Regions from separate parts of the Homo sapiens genome. Here regions 1, 3 and 4 are each linked to region 2. Evidence: promoter capture Hi-C in 16 types of primary human blood cells and fetal thymus (Javierre and others, 2016). All regions are on one chromosome and are shown on one strand. Each heading gives the region's core, a stretch centred on a gene start or on the middle of the fragment in contact. The rest is flanking DNA. Distances are from core to core; before and after follow the strand shown. Region 1 has its middle 110 kb from the start of LINC03041. Region 2 holds the start of BNC2 (basonuclin zinc finger protein 2). Region 3 overlaps CNTLN (centlein). Region 4 overlaps LINC03041 (long intergenic non-protein coding RNA 3041).

Region 1 (2,700 bases), core at 76-2,575, 710 kb after region 2:
AATTGCTAAATCACATGGTAAGATTGTGTTTAGCTTTGTAAGAAATTGTCACACTGTCTTCCAAAGACAGCATATCATTTTGCATTTTTACCATTGCTCCACAATAGTAAGAGTTCCCATTGCTCCACATTTTTGCCAACATATAGTGTTTTCAGTTTTTTACTTTAGCCAGTCTCATAGGTGTGTAGTAGTATCTTGTTTTAATTGGCAATTTCCATGAGTTACAATATATGATGTTGAACATCTTTTCATATGCTAATTTGCCATCTGTATATCTTCTTTGGTGAGGTGTCTGTTTAGAGCTTTGCTCATTTTTAAATCGGGTTGTTTTTCCATTGTTGAGTTTTTTGGTATGTTCTGGATACAAGTACTTGATGAGGTATGTGTTTTGCAAATATTTTCTCTCAGTCTATGGTTTTTTTTTTTTTTTTTTCCACTCTTTTAACAGTGTCTTCGACAGACCAGAAGTTTTTAAAAATCAAGACATTTCACATAGCAATCTGGCTTTCTGGCTTCTCTTGGAAGTGCATCTGGTAACACTGGGACCCATGCCTGCAGGGCTAAAGCCACTGGCGGCTGCCTCTGTGGACAGCCAGCTCTCCCCAGTTCTCCAGAGCTGCATCCCTCCCACTTCACTCAGCTGCATTACCTGCCTGGCCCCCTGAGATATATGCCTGGGATGACTCTGGTCTAGAGAAAGCTTCTCCTTTCTACAGTGGGTTTCACATAGGTATGCCTTGAGTAAAACCATCTGATGCTTTAAAAGAAAAGTTTAAACATGACTGGCTTAGATGATCTTCCTGCTCTTTCCAATCAGTCTTACCCTTCCATTGTCACATTCAACTTGAACGAGAGGAGAGGCAATTTCATAAACTCTCTCTCTGTGGCCTGTTGTGCTCACTCCAATCCATGTCATGGAGTATGATGCCTACATGAAGGTCACCACCACCAATGCCACTGTGCTTACCAGAAGTGCCTCACACCAGCTGGATCAATAAGAAGAAAACCTTCACATGCAGCTGCCTTCTATATGGGGATGGGGGTAAAGTCATCTCATACAGCACAAGTATCTTAAACCCCAAATCACCTCGAGGTATGGAAAATAGACATTTGCTATAGGTTGGTTCATTTGACCCTTCCAAGTCTCATGTTGAAATTTGATCCCCAATGTTGACAGTGGGACTTAATGGAAGGTGTTTGGATCATGGAAGTAGATCCCTCATGGATGGCTTGGTGCCATCCTCGTGGTAATGAGTGAGTTCTCACTCTATTAGTTCCCACGAGAACCAGTTGTTAAAAAAAGAGCCTGGCACCTCCCTCCCCTTTCTTGCTTCCTCTGTTGCCATGTAATCTCTGCACATGCCAGCTCCCCTTTGCCTTCTACCGTGAGTGGAAATTTCCTGAGGCCCTCACCAGAAGCAGATGCTGGTGCCATGCTTCTTATACAGCCTGCAAAACCAAGAGCCAAATAAATATCTTCTTTATAAATTACTCAGCCTCAGGTATTCCTTTATAGTAACACAAATGGACTAAGATGGCATCTTTATAGACAGGAACCACTCTTGCCACAGAAAGATGCTCTTGCATGAAGGCACATGAGAACTGAGACCAGGAGAAAACAGCAGATTGGAGCCACAGATTTCTGCCTCTCAGCTCATACTCATTCTGAGGCATAAACCTATTGAGTAGGGTGGTGGGCTAACTCTCAGCATTATCTAAATTTCTGTCTCTCTCTTTGTCCCCTGAATTGGTGTAGTCAACTTTCTTTAAGGAGTATGTGTTTGGCATGACTCAGTTTTCACCAGGGTCGCTAATGCATCTGAAAGCTGCCTCTTGAGTTCTAAAAAGCATCAGTAAAGACAAATCAAAAGGGCCTAGCCCAAACTTCACAACAAATTAGAGGTGAGGTAATGATTTTTATATAAGTTCCTTGTCCCCTGGCCAAGCTTGGTATCTTATCGTGTATACTTGTTGAAGTTACATATGTAGAGGACAATGTTAATTTGCTAGGGCTTATATGACAAAGTTCCACAAACTGGGTGGCTTATATGACAGAAATTTATTGACCCACAATGCTGGAAGCTAGAAAACCAAAATCAAGGTGTTGGCAGGATTGTTCCTTCTGGGGGCTCTGAGGGAAGGAGGCGTTCCAGGCCTTTCTCCTTGGCTTGTAGACGACTGTCTTCTCCATGTCTCTTCACATAACCTTCACTCCATGGGTGTCTCTGGGTGCAAATTTTCCTTTTTTATAAGGATGCCAGTATATTGAATTGGGGTTCACTCTAATACCTCATTTTAACTAATTACATCCACGATAATCTGATTTCCAAGTAAGGTCACATTTTGAGGTATAGGGAGTTAGGACTTCAACCTATGAATTTGTAAGGGGAGCATAATTCAACCTATAATAAGGCCTCTAGGGTAGGAGGACAAAAATCCCTTGTCTCCATCAGTCAGTCAACTCATGGGGAAATATAGGTCTTGGGAAAGTGAATTAATAAGGAAAGTCCATAAAAGCAAACCTTAATGATGGCATTCCCAACGTTCTTCATTCTTCCAGAATCTTTCTCTTCTTTTTGAGATAACATAGTCATGGTAGAAACAAAGAGGTGCTAAAAATCAATGGAAGATTATTGAAAGTCTCAAAACTCTTCTCCAGTCTTCCCCCAATCCTCACGACATCTTCATAAAAGCTGTTCT
Region 2 (2,700 bases), core at 115-2,614:
CCCCCCACCCCCGCCCCATTCTTGCGGCCGGGGAGTGTGTTTTGCCTGTATTTAAGAAATATCGTTCAGCTGCAGGCGTGTGCGCGCTTAGGCTGTAGTCGGCGTTTCTGAGTCTCCAGGGCAGGGTGACTTGGGTCGGCTGAGTGTCACCCACAGATGTGACTGTTCTTTCCCCCGCGGGCGCGACAGCCTCCTTCCTCTCCAGCCCGAGGCCCGCGGCCCAGACCACGGGAAAGGGAAGGAAGCCCTCGCCGCAAGCCGGCGTCTGGGCCGGCACAAAACGCTCCGCCACCAGAAAAACTTTTTTCCCCCAGCTGCGCGCAACTTTTGGCCTTTTCTCCCAGCACGTTCGCGTCCCAGGTTTCTGTCCGCTGGGTTTTCCTCCGCCTCACTCGCCTTCTCCCCAGCGGCGCGCGGAGGAGCTGGGCTGAGAGGGTCGCGGGGAGCCGGGTCGGCCGCGGCTGGGACGCTGGGGAAGGGGCAGGGGAGGAGGGGGCGTGCGGGGCTGGGGAGGAGGAACTGGTCAAAGGGGACAGAGACGCCCGAGTGCCCGAAAAGGAAAGAGCTGCCGCGGTTTGCTGCAGTCGGAATAAAGTTCGCGCCCTTTCCTCGGCGTTTCGCAGCCTCCTCTCCTTGCTCCGCTCCCCACCCCCGCCCCGCAATTTTTTTTTGTGTGTGTGTGACAGCTGGGCGCTAGCGGCCACCTCTACCTCCACGCCCGCAGCTCCCCGGGGGGGGGGGGGGGCGCCAGGGTTGTTTTTCCATCCCCACAAAGTTGTTTTTTCCATCCCCAGAAAGAGAGAGCAAGAACAACCCAAACAACAAACAAGCCCCCAAAGAAGTCACGGGGCGGTGGGGGGAGGGAGAAACATACATCCTCCTTCCCCAAGCCCCTGGACCTCTGAGGACAAACAACACAACGACCGACTTTTATTTTGCAAAAGGGAAGCAACATTGTAGTCACGACAATTCTGCAGAGAGAGGAAAAACTTGTGGGGCTTGCACGGCCGCCGAGGTCACCTCGCCCGCCGGTCCCCCGCCTCCCGCGAGCAGGGCAGCCCCCTCCCGGGACAAGCCGTTCCCTTTTTTTTTTTTTTTGTCCCGAGGAGGAGCCGGGGAACCGTGCCGGCTGGGACTCGGGGCGCGAGCGCGACCCCGGCGCGAGTGTAAATCAGTCACCTGAGCGCAGAGGGGCCGCGGCGAGGGCGCGCGCGGGCGGGCGGGGAGGCGGAGGCGGCGAGAGCGGAGGCCCGGAGGAACTCGGAGGGGGAGGGAGAGAAAGGCCGAGACGGAGGGAGCCAGCGGCGGCCGAGGGGCTGGTCCAGGCGCGGCCGCTAAGAGGAGACCAAGAGGCGGGGGCTGCACTTGACAACCAGCATGCCGAGATGGTAAGAAGTTTCCACCCTCCTTCCTCTTTTATTCTAGACTTCCTCAGAAATGACCCCCGCGCCCGAGCGCCACCGGGGCCGCCCGGGGGCCGTGTCCGCCCTCCGGCCCGCGGCGTGAGGGGCAAGGGGCGCTGAGGAGGGCGGGCCGGGGACCAGAACCCCGGTCCGACCTGATCCCCGCTGCGCTCCCAGTGGCCTCCCCTAAACTTGGCCCCAAGTTTCTGAGGCGAGCTCTAGGTGGGAGGGTGCACGTGAGAGGGGGCTTCTCAAGGTCGGCCCCGCTCGCGGCTTCCGCGCGAAGGTGAGCGGCTGGCTAGGGGAGGCTCCAGGGCGTTGGGGACGGGCTGGGGGGACGAGGTGGAGGGGAGTGGGGGATGAATGGAGCGCTGGCAGGAGCTCGGGGAAGAGAGGAAGGCGGCTGGGACCTACGGGAACTTTTACAACTTGCCGCCGAGTGAGGGACCGGCGGCTGGGCGTGGGTGCCGGGTGCGCTGGGGCGCAGCCGCCCGGGCCCGGCACGTTGACTCTTCCTCTCCCCTTGTCTTCACATTCGGAATCTTCCCGTGGTAAATGGAGATGGGAGGAAATGCTCCCGCAGGCTTTACGGAGAAGGTGCAGAACGCAGGGCAGGAAAATCAACCTTGCAGAGACGGCTCTTTTCGAAGTGCAATTCTATAGGAGCCGATTTGTTTTACTTGCACGTTGACTGGAGGGTGGGATTTGGGGCCTGGGGAGGGAGCAGAATAAAAAATTATATATGCTGAAAAACCCTAGGTGAAATCTCCTGTGAAGTGAGTTTAAGGTTGAAAAAAAGTTCCAAGTGCAAGTGGTGGAGGAGATGGGCTGGCTTTGCCAAGCGAGACTCCAGCACAGCCCCTCTACGAGAAGCGACTTCTTTGCAGCGAGGAAGCGTGCAATTAGTTCGCCTGGTGATGAGCCGCTCTGTCCGCTTTCGGGGAAGTGATTTGTTAGAAATGGGGCTTGACCACTCCCTTCTTTTTAGTTTGCTTCCTCCCAGCGTCGCTATTGTTACCCCCACTTGGGGATCTGACATGGTGTATTCCGTATATAGAGGGAACATATGAGAATACAGGTGAGATAGCGGGTTGGCATTTTTTCCTCTTCCCTGCTCCCTAATGTGACATCTCTTGTTTCAGTGATCAAAGTCACAACTGGAGTGTAGGAGATGGGACTGTCAAATGCAGGGGCGCGTACACACACACACACACACAAAAGCAAGAGCCCAGGACTGTGGTTACAGTAACGCTGACAGAAATTAAAGTGGTTTTGAAAGCAGCGTGCGATTTATGAT
Region 3 (2,700 bases), core at 3-2,502, 590 kb before region 2:
ATAAGAAAAAAATCTTATACTTCAATAAACAAATGCAAACTCTTGTAATGAAACTAAATTAGCCATAATATCTTCTAATTTAATATAATTTGAGATTCAATCCACACAGCTGTTTAGCATAAGTTGATGAACTATTAAGTATAAAATGGTAGATGCTGTGAGAACCACTGCTACTGCTGCTGCTGCTGCTGCTACTACTAAAACAAGAATGACAATAGCTAACATGTATCGAAGGCTTACAATGTTCCAGTCACTGTTATAAGTGCTTTACATGTATTAACTCATTTATTCCTCGTAAGAACCTAATTTAATATTATTAAATTTAGGCATAGGCCTAGTAGGTAGGGAAGCCAGGATTCAAAGAGTGTTAATCTAGAGCCCTGTTAAACAATAAGCAAGACTTACTCTTAATTGATAAATAAACTTCAAAATATTATCAGTTAAAAAATTAACCAAGCTTTTTGTCTAATGCTTTTATCTATTCATATCACTTTTAAGTGCTCTTCACTTATAATGAGGTCTACAGGTGTGTTTGTGAGATACATATATCTCAAATGTATCAGTGACAACTGGAATTCTATCTAAACATCTTACTATTTCTAAGCAATAGTGTAGCTTTGAAAGATACAGAAAGAAAATAATTTTGATTCAGTGGGATAGAGCATTTAAAATCTTTGTACTGATAAACACAAGAGTACAAACTTCCATAACCTCCAGTTATTTTAAACACAAACAAAACTTTCCTTTTTTTACCTTAGCTTTATAAGCTTAGGCATTAAATCCAATACAAATACTAATCATATATTTGGGGGGCCAAATAACCACCACGTTGTAAAGTTTTTCATTCATTGTCTCGAAGCCATTAATTTGTATTTATTCAAAATTAAATATGTTTAATAACGGAAATTTAACTTCATCATTATCTAATTTAAAAAAGTAAATAGCTTGCCATTAATCATGCTATACATAGTATTCCTTAAACTTTCATCTTAGGTAGGTTTAAATATGAACTAGGGAAGGAAAACGTAAACATTAGCAGTTTCTTGGAGCACGTTTAATAGAGCTGGTTGCCACTAGGTGGCACCAAATACAATGGATAGAAATACAAAAACCATACTTTTCATGCATTTCCTTTATGTGTTCTTCTTTTGCTAGGAGTTCAAATTTCAAAGTCTTCACATTTGATGACTGTTTAGTGAGTTCATTAGTAGCATTCTAGATTAAAAATAGAAATAAATTTAAATATACCTTACAACCTTGGTCTAAGGCAGCATAAAAATAAGTGCCATTCTAAAGAAGAATACCTCTACAATAATTATGGTAAACAATAATTAAAATGAATATTTTAATATTTTAAATGCTTTATTTTATATGCTGTAATAGAAATAATAATACTAAAACTTTTATATAACATGCCAAACTATAGAGGAACACAATCATTTAAGAATTGCAAAGAGTATGTATCCAAAATACATTTACAGGAAATATGAGTTGTCCTGGTATAATGTAAATATGTGAATAATTAAGAATTTTAATGATTTAAGAAGATCACTTAAAACAAATACTGGATTTACTAACATCTTAGACGAAATATGGTCACAAATGCTTTGCTGCTCATCAAGCAGGGGAATCCATTTCCTAACCCACTGAACGTAGTCTGGCTTGTGACTTGCTTTGTCGAAAAGAATGCAGCAGAAATGAATTGTGTAAATTTCAGTTCCCAGGCCTTAAAGCTTTGTGGCTTCTCTCTTTCCCTTCTTGGAATGCTGCTCCAGGATCACCTTGCTAGGAATACAGTTGATGTATCATGTGGAAGTGTACCAAGGTACTCCAGCTGACAGGTAGTAGACCAATTGTCCGATCTATGAGTGAGGCTATTTTGTATCTTCCAACTAGGGAAATCTTTGGTTTGAAAAAATCCAGGGATATGAGGTAGCCCAGAAGAGACCAGCAAAAGAACTTCCCAGTCAACCCACAAAATCTTAAGAAATAATAAACTGTTGTTTTAAGCCACGATGTTTCGGGATAGTTTGTTAGAGAATAATGGTAACTGATAGAAAACCTCATGAATACTCAATCCTTCTTTACTTGAAGTTATTAATAATGCTACTTATTACATTATTTGTAAATAATTATTAGTTTTTCAAAGCAAAACATGTTTGTTCTGTGGTATTTGTTGTCAGTAGAGCCTAGGAACCAGAGGTGGTAACTAGAGTGTTAGAACACCTTTCAATTTTGACTCTAGTTCCAACTAAATGTGTAATCTAAGACATCACTTAGTCTTTTTGGTATTTAGTTTTTCCACACTCAAGATAGTGTTGACATACTCACATTAATCCATTTGTTAAGTTTTAAAGGTATTAAATGAATATAAATATAATAAAATATAATAGCTTTTAAAATATTTGGAGTAGTTATTTAGCTAATATTTCTAAACTACAATAAATTTTTTCTATTAGAACTATTCCTAGGTTTGGATGTTTGACTCATGCTAAAAATAATTTGAATTTGAAAAGATTAAACTATTAATTACCCAAGGTAAATGTAATTCATCAGACTGACTTTAAATATCTCATGGGTATAACATACAAATAAAACATTTGAAATAATTTTAATTTTTACATGAAACATTAATTTTTCTTAAAAACCCAAAGCTACCTCAACATGGTAACTCTTTTGAATGTTATGTTTTGATCAAAT
Region 4 (2,700 bases), core at 198-2,697, 620 kb after region 2:
CAACCTGTCCTAGGAGAATTTTCATTATCCTAGAGGAATAGTATAGGAGGACCACCTGGGAACTAGATGCTTAATGTGCTATCCTGGAGTTTTAGATGAGAAGCATCAAATACGTTTAGCCATGTTATAGGCCAAAAGGTAACTGTTGTATAGGATTGTGAACCAGAAGTCAGTTAAGTATTTGGGATGTGGTTTCAGAATAAATGGTCTGTAGCTCTTCTTTCTGGCAGTGACTGGAGAGCAGGGCCTGTTGTCTATTAAGGCCACTCCTAGTTCATGAAAATAAAACCATGTCAACTTCAGATAAAAGAATGTTTATCTTTCTGTTCTCCTAGGAGGGAATTGGAGGGGCCAGGCTGGGAAAGTGTCTTGTTGATCCAAATGTGGTAGCATATCATTGATGTTTCAATGGAAAAAGAAAAGTGTGTTCAACATTCATCTATTGTTTCTCCTCATGGCAAATGAGGATTAAGGCAGTTCTGCATTTATTCATAATGATATCCCTAGCACCAGTCTAGTGCCAGGCCATAGTATGTGATCAATAACTATTTATTCAATGATCAATGGTGCCTGCTCCTTTAAAAGACTGCCCTGCTAACCTCATTCTCGTGTAATGTCAAGATGGTAGTTCTCTATCCGCATTGGAATAGAGCCTTTGGCTGGCCAAGCTGGGTCCCAGGTGTTGGTAGTGTAGACAAGCCCACTTTTCACCCCTTATTTGCATCTGTTTGTGACTGTTACTTTAATTGCATGGGTAACATTTTCTTTGGGAAAGAGGCAGAAGGAAAAGGGAGCTATTGGGTAAAATGCAGGAACAGCTATTTTGAGTCTGGTCTGGCAGAGAGGGTTTGAAGCCACGCCTGGAGGAATGAGAGTTGGAGCACAGGAGAGCTGTTCTCCTGAGAAGGTGAGATTCTGGCATGGATCTGCTGCTTTGGGGCCCACGTGATCCCATAGCCACAGAAGCTTCTATCCTTCTCTTTCCTGCAAGGATCCACAATCTCCTCTGGGCACATAACAGATGGCAGCCTGGGTGGGAAATGGCACTCTGGGGATGCTCACTGTCCTGGGGCAGCAGGGCCTCCTTTAGGCAGCTCTATGGGAGCCATAGAGGAAGGACGGGAAGGAGATGCAGGAGAGGAAAGAAATGCAGGCACCTGGTGCCCACTGACGCTCTAACAACAAACTGCAGGATCGTGCAAGCTCCTTTATGGAGCGCATGCAGTGTTCAAAATCATAGCTTGTTGTGTGTGTGTGTGTGTGTGTGTGTGTGTGTGTATGTATAATCACCAGCTGGTGAGACCTGGGGTATATTTATTTGTGCTCCAAATTACTACCTTTGTACCTACAAGCAACCAAGCACAAAACAGATACCCACTTTGGTAGCTAATAGACAAGGAAGGGACAACAAACTCCACACCAAAAAGTCATCTATAATTCTAAACAGATTTATTCACAGCTTGGTACAAAGAATGGTCTTTGTGTCAAATAAAAATCCCAGGTTTGAATAATGATAACAATAATAATAACAGCAGACACTTTTCCACAGTGTTCCCTGTGTGAAAGGTACAATTCTGAGTAATTTATACGTTTTAAATAATTAATTTAATCCTCCCAACAGTCCTATGAGATAGGGTATCTTACTACAGCCACTCTACAGAAGAGGAAACTGAGGCACAGAGAAGTTAGGTAACTTGGTCAAAATCACACAACCAGTATGCGGCAGAGTTGGGATTCAAACCCAAGAAGATGGCTTTATACCATCATGAGATATGATAAAGATATCATCTTTATTGAGGTATAATTTACATACCATAAAACTCACCCTTTAAAGTGTATAATTCAGCAATTTTTAGTATGTTCAAAATTGTACAACCCTCACCATTATCTAATTTTAGAACACTTTTATCACCCCAAAAGAAGCTTGATATCCATTAGCATTACTCCCCATTCCTCCTTCCCCCTCCTTGTAACCGCTAATCTACCTTCTGTCTCTACAAGTTTGCCTATTCCGCGTTGCACATAAATGGAATCGTATAATACGTAGTCATTGTGTCTGGCTTGTTTTTCACTTAGCAAGATCCTTTCAAGGCTCAGCCATGGTCTGGTATGTATCAGAATGTCAGTCCTTTTTACGGTCAAATGATATCCCATTGTATAGATACAACATTTTGCTTGTCCATTCATTAGTTGATAGACATTTGGGTTGTCTCCACTTTGTGGCTCTGATAAGTAATGTTCCTATGAACCAACTAAATTGTATTTAAAAAAATAAAACCAGAATATATTTCACATATGATAACTAATAAGCTAATTTTCTGGGAGATTCAAGGATTGCCTTTCTAAAGCCAGGCAGGCACTCCTGTGCCTATCTGTATTTAAGGAGCTGATAAAAGTGGCAGAGATTATGCCAGATGATGCATATAAAAGTGCTTTCTAAAACTTTAAAGCATCAGTCCAAATATTGGTCATGAATAACATGAGCTTGTCCAACGACTTGAGAGTTCAAGTTAGAGGATAGTTAGATGGCTAATTGAGGTTTTATTGTTAAAAACACTATTTATTTTAAAAGGTTCTATGCTGTATTAACTGGGAGGCAGGCAAAGGGCCCACTTTGTGTCCATAGCCAGTCACAATGAGCTGTTCCACAAATGTCATTGTGGGTCCCAGGGATACTAGTTTCTCTGCTACTATATTCCT

Evidence for each region. Contacts are between HindIII fragments. The CHiCAGO score rates a contact against its expected background, and 5 or more counts as called.
Region 1: a fragment that was not itself captured here is called in contact with the fragment with the promoter of BNC2 in region 2 in 2 of 17 cell types (endothelial precursors and M0 macrophages); the score reaches 5.9 in endothelial precursors.
Region 3: a contact is called between a fragment that was not itself captured here and the fragment with the promoter of BNC2 in region 2, in 1 of 17 cell types (erythroblasts). The highest score is 6.3, in erythroblasts.
Region 4: a fragment that was not itself captured here is called in contact with the fragment with the promoter of BNC2 in region 2 in 2 of 17 cell types (M2 macrophages and M1 macrophages); the score reaches 7.2 in M2 macrophages.

What each region holds. Positions count from the first base shown.
Region 1 is chr9:16,164,231-16,166,930 of GRCh38, reverse strand. No RefSeq gene overlaps it. Among named protein-coding and RNA genes, the nearest start is that of LINC03041, 110 kb to the left of the region's middle. The HindIII fragment of the contact is 1,246 bases long and covers 703-1,948 here.
Region 2 is chr9:16,869,334-16,872,033 of GRCh38, reverse strand. It overlaps BNC2 (basonuclin zinc finger protein 2), which reads left to right and starts at 1,364. Exons shown (of 7, transcript NM_017637.6): 1 at 1,364-1,388. The coding sequence starts at 1,386. The HindIII fragment of the contact is 8,266 bases long and covers 1-2,700 here.
Region 3 is chr9:17,461,431-17,464,130 of GRCh38, reverse strand. It overlaps CNTLN (centlein), which reads right to left. Exons shown (of 26, transcript NM_017738.4): 20 at 1,118-1,215. Among named protein-coding and RNA genes, the nearest start is that of SH3GL2, 120 kb to the left of the region's middle. The HindIII fragment of the contact is 966 bases long and covers 770-1,735 here.
Region 4 is chr9:16,248,412-16,251,111 of GRCh38, reverse strand. The region is part of intron 1 of LINC03041 (long intergenic non-protein coding RNA 3041); the gene reads left to right. Among named protein-coding and RNA genes, the nearest start is that of LINC03041, 27 kb to the left of the region's middle. The HindIII fragment of the contact is 957 bases long and covers 969-1,925 here.